Regions from separate parts of the Homo sapiens genome. Here region 2 is linked to region 1. The links are contacts of gene promoters, found by promoter capture Hi-C in blood cells and fetal thymus (Javierre and others, 2016). All regions are on one chromosome and are shown on one strand. The core of a region is centred on a gene start or on the middle of the fragment in contact, and the rest is flanking DNA. Distances in the headings are between cores, read along the strand shown.

What was found. The method cuts DNA at HindIII sites, captures the fragments that hold promoters and counts their contacts. A CHiCAGO score of 5 or more calls a contact.
Region 2: a contact is called between a fragment that was not itself captured here and the fragment with the promoter of SYT6 in region 1, in 2 of 17 cell types (M2 macrophages and M1 macrophages). The highest score is 6.2, in M2 macrophages.

Annotation. Positions count from the first base shown.
Region 1 is chr1:114,152,619-114,155,241 of GRCh38, reverse strand. SYT6 (synaptotagmin 6) reads left to right here and starts at 1,373. Exons shown (of 8, transcript NM_001253772.2): 1 at 1,373-1,632. The coding sequence starts at 1,470. RefSeq lists an enhancer at 1-198. The HindIII fragment of the contact is 4,368 bases long and covers 327-2,623 here.
Region 2 is chr1:114,010,142-114,012,764 of GRCh38, reverse strand. No RefSeq gene overlaps it. Among named protein-coding and RNA genes, the nearest start is that of OLFML3, 32 kb to the right of the region's middle. The HindIII fragment of the contact is 2,795 bases long and covers 1-2,623 here.

The sequences.
Region 1 (2,623 bases), core at 124-2,623:
GTCTTCAGCACCGTGGACAGAGCCAGGGGGCGCCTCACGGTGGAAAAGCCGCCTGGCTGGGCCAGGGTCCTCACAGGCCTTGCCTTAGCCCTTGGTGCCCCAGGCACCAGCTGCTAGGGGATCGCAAGTCCAAGGGCCGGTTGGCACAGATGGCGCGCAGTGGAGACCGCCAGGAGCTAAGGCTCCGAATCTCCTCCCTCCGGAACGTGAGTCACTGCCCGAGTCACTTCCAATAAGCGTGTTAATTAAGAGGCAAGACCTTTCTCCCTCGCCAGCCACTCGGGCATACACCAACCCAGCAGCCTCCAGGGGCTGCAGCTAAAGCTTCCTTCCCAGCTCCGGGAGAGCAAATGGACCTGAGTCTGGGGCTTCAGGCGAGCCCCACACAGAAGGGGCCCCACCGCCGACAGGTGTAGATCAAGAGACTCCCGAGATAGGCCCCTGCAGGGCGCTGGTCCCCCGGCCTCCCTGACCATGGCTCACAGACTTCCAGCGCTGAGTGAGGCAGCTCGAAGCCTCTCAGCCGATCTGTTCCTGGGCCTCACTCCACAGTTTCTGAGGGGATCTCTACTTTAAGTCTAGCCTCAATCCTCCCGTTGAGCTTTCTGTCTTTCTTGTTATGCTTAGCAGAAAGATACATGATCTCTGGTGCTGTTTCACCGAAGCAAGGAGGTGGGTCGGCGGAACTGAGCGCCCTGCGCCCTCTTGAAATGACCCCCCATTCCTGTTTGCCAGAAACTTTTCCCTCCCGTTGCCATGGAGAGAGACGGCCGCTGCCTCCCGTCGCCATAGCAACATGCGGGTACCGCGGACCGCAGGATTGCGGAGCTCGGAAAGTCTTGCAGTTCGCATCGCCCGCCTGTCTTGGGGTCTTCTACCTCCGAAGCTGGGACTCGGGGGCCAGTCTAACTGCTCCCGTCAGGAACCTCGGCCAAGGTCCTCCCAGACCCTGCCTGACCGTCGCTCTTTCTGTTACGGGGTTATCTATTTCTCTGTCATTCGTGTGGCATGTGGCAGTTTACCCAGTGTTTTCACAAACACGATCTTTCTATCCCCAGGGAGTCCGTGAAGTACTTAAAATCATTACACCTCCTTTACGGAGAGGAAAATTGAGGCTCAGAGACGCCCAAGGTCACACCAGGCAGTGAATGCGGAGTGGGAACCCGGACTCTTTCCTGGCCTTGCACCCTCCGAGATTCGGGACAGCCCGGCTTCCCGCCTCGAAACCCCCACCCCCCGGACTCAGGCCAGTCCCTGAGTGTAGAGGGGGCGGCCGCGAGGCGCCAGACTCGCCAGCTGCCGCGGGATGCCACGTGAGGGGCGGGGACCCTGCGGGGAAGTGATTAAAAGCAGAGCGGAGCCGCAGGGGGCCGCTGCAGGGAGGGTCTTCTTGGGGCCGTCGTGCCCCGCCCCAGTGCGGCCGGGGCGCGGGTTCGAGCTGCTGCTCGGCAAGCCTGGGTGTCTAGGGCATGAGCGGAGTGTGGGGGGCCGGCGGGCCTCGGTGCCAGGAGGCGCTCGCGGTCCTCGCCTCGCTGTGCCGGGCCCGGCCGCCCCCTCTCGGGCTGGACGTGGAGACTTGTCGGAGCTTCGAGCTGCAGCCCCCAGAGCGGAGTCCCAGCGCGGCAGGCGCAGGTAACGGGAGACCCAGGGCCCCCTCCCTTCCTGGATATCCGTCCTGCGATCTCCCTTCCCCAAAGCCCCGGTCCCAGGAGCCCCAGAACCTAGAGAGAACTCCCCAGCTCGGGATTCTGGATTGGGAGCCAGCCTCGTCCAGCCCTCTGGCCCATCGCTTGCACAGCCAGGAGAGACCCGAAGGGGAGCGGAGGTTGGGGTAGAAGCCCCCGGCCCTCCTGTATTACTACTGCGGAATGCGGGGGACCCCGCAGACAGCCAGGCTCCCAGGACGGGGCACCCTTGGGGCTTCAGTTTCCCTCGCATCTCCAAGCTCGCTCTGCGGGCGATTTGCCAGGAGAGGGGTCCATGGAGAGAGCGGGAGACGAGGGGCGCCCGGCTGAGGAATAGGGCTTGCCTCCTAGCGAGTGTCGAGGTCCCCGGGTCCGTGCGTCGGTCTGTCCGTCCGTTTGTGTGTTCTCGCGGTGAACGCGGGCGGACCCCCAGTCTCTCCGGGAGAAACTTGGGTCTGCGGCTGGCACGAGGTCTTTGTGTCCGGGTGTCTCTCCGGCTGCGAGTGGTTTTCCGCGTCTCCGCTGGGGGGCGGGGGACAGGGGGCGGGGTGGGGGAGGGTATGAGGGTGTTGCGGCGTCCTTCCCCCACCCCCTCTCGCCCCTATAACTCGCTCCCTCCGTCCCTCTCGGACTCGGACTCGGGGCCGGTGCGCGACTGAGCTGGCGCCTCTAGCCGACTTTGCCAAGAGGGCGCCTCCTGCCCGATCCGCGCTGACCCTGCGCGGGACGCAGCCCCAGGCGGCTGCCTAGCCGAGGCGGGAGCCCGAGCTGAGTCGAGCTCGCCGGAGCGGGTGAGTCCCGAGCCCGATCCCCGCCGGGCTGGACCCTGGCGCGCAGCTGCGGCGTCTCCGGGGAGTCGCGGCAGGGGGAATGGCGTGTCGCGCCCTGGCGGCGGGAGCTGCGGGAGGGTCGGCGACGTGGCGGCCGGCCCAGGGTAT
Region 2 (2,623 bases), core at 41-2,540, 140 kb after region 1:
AAGTCCCTCACCCAGCCTGGGGGAGAGGGAGGAGGCTGTGTCAGCGAAGGCTGGAAGAAGGATGCTTGAGCTGTGCTGAAGTATGTGTATGGGTCAATCTGGTGAAGAAGGTAGGGATGTATTTTAGGTATAGGAAACAGCAAGTTCAACAGCACTGACACGTAAAGCAGCAAGCAGCTCCGTACAGGCTAGCATGGACTGGCCCACAGCAGAGACCTGGGGAGGCTGAGGCCAGAGATGCAGCCCACTCTGAAAGGCCTTCAAGACCAAGACAGGGACTTCAGAGATTCCCTAATTGCACGGAAGCCAATGTGGTTTTTCCCTGGGAGAACATCACACCCAGATATATGTCTTTAATAGCCACCATGGCCACAATGTGGAGATGGGTTAATGGAGAGAATCTTGGTGTGGGGGAGGCCATTCAGGAGGTTGCATGAACACTGGAGGCCTGAACTAAGGCAGTGGCTGTGGGGATGGAGAGAAGGGACTGAGGCTGTGAGATGGTAAGAAGCAGAGTCCAGGGTTATGTTGACTGGTGTCTGACTGGACATGGAGTAGAGAAGGGGTAAGAGAGGGTCAGAGATAATGTCCAGGTTCCTGATTCAGAAATCAAAGTAGCTGACCATGCCATTCTCCAGAAAATGACATCCAGGAGGAGGGACAGCCTTGGGTAAAGGGTCAGAAGTGCAGAAGGTAGTTGTGCACACAAACACAACTCAGTAGAGGGCTCTGGTCAGAAATATCTATATTTGGCAGCACTGCCATACAAAGCCACAGGAAGAGATGATACATCTGGAAACATTTAGAGGATGAAAAGAGAAGAGGGTCAAGAATGAACCATGCATTTAAGGGACAAGCAAAGGAATTGTAACCTGCAGAAAAAAAAGAAAGAAAAGACCAGAAGAGATGAAATTAAGAATAAGTGAGACCAGTGTGGTGGCTCATACCTGTAATCCCAGGGCTGTGGGAGGCCAAGGCAGAAGGATTGCTTGAGGTCAGGAGTTTGAGACCAGCCTAGGAACCATAACAAGATTCTATCTCTGCAATATGTATGTGTGTGTGTGTGTATATATATATATATATATATTTTTTTTTTTTTTTTTTTTAATTAGCCAGGTGTGGTGGTGCACACCTGCAGTCCCAGCTACTCAGGAGGCTCGCTTGAGCCCAAGGGTTCAAGGCAGCAGTGAGCCAAGATCATACCACTGCACTCCAGTATGAGTGACAGAGTGAGAGTACCCACACCACTGTGGAGTGAGAAACAGAGAAAGGGGAAGCTGTAGGTGCAGAGAACTTTCAGGAGAGCTGTCTGTAAAAGGAAGGAAGACAGAACTAGAGAAATCAAGGAAGAAATTGTTAAAGGATGAGAACAACTTGAGTAGATATGGAGGAAAGGATTTAGGAGAGAGGAAGAGATTGAAGATGTAGAAGAGAAGGGAAATTTGATGGAAGGAAGTCATAGCAAAAGAGAGATATGAGGATGGAGGGAAGTGCATAACTGAAGGAATTCACATGGACTGAAGAAGGGACACCTCCTCCCCTCGGTGCAATGAATTGTCCAGCTTTCTTAGAATAATATTCCATATGTAGCTCTATGCTCCCTATAAAATGAGACTGACATCTGTTAATGAGATTACTGTAAAGCTAATTTCACTTCATTCTTTACCTCATTTCCTCTCTCCCTAACTATCTCCATTAATGACAAGAGCAGTGAGGTGCCCTGAGAAGCAGGAGGCGGTGCCCAGAGCCGGCAAGGGTGGGGAGAGGAAAAAGGAGTCCAGCCTATGGTAGGACGTGAGTGGCTTCAACACCCCTCAGAACCCAATGCCTCCACTGAACCACGAAGCAAGCTGAGAAGCCCCGCCAGCTTATGGGGAAAGTGCTGGCTTCCCTAGAGTCTAAACCTGTTCTAACTTTCCCCTGGTTCCAGCTCTGGATCCACCTCTACATTTTTAACTCACCCTTGCCCCTTTGGTTTGTGGGATTTTTCTTTCATTGCTGACTTCTGATTCTTGGCTCCTTCTCAAGAGTTTTGCCTTGTGTTCAATTCCTTGATATGCCAGCTTTTGACTACCTTCTCTAAAACTCATGTACTTATGCTCCTCCTCATTCAAAAGGGGATTCGAGGGTTGACAAGGGGGTCATAAAGATAAAAAAGGATTATGTCATTGTGCACACATCACAGAGTGTACTTACAGAAACCTAGATGGTGCAGCCTACCACATACCTAGGCTACAAACCTGTACTGCATGTTGCCATACCGAGTGCTGCAGGCAATTGTAACGCTATAGTATTCGGGGATCTAAACATATCTAAATGTAGAAACTGTAAAGTGAAGGTATGGTATAAAAGATAAAAACTGTACACCTGCATAGGGCCCTTACCATGACTGGAGCTTGCAGGACTGGAAGTTGCTCTGGGTCAGTGTGTGAGCAGTGAGAGAATGTGAAGACCTAGGACATTACTGTACCCTACAAGGATTAGAAACACTGTACACTTAGGCTATGCCAAATTTATTTTAAAATTTTCTTTCTTCAATAATAAATTACCCTTAGCTTACTGTAAGTTTTTACTTTATACACTTTTTAAATTTTTTTAACTCTTTGACTTTTTTGAAATAACA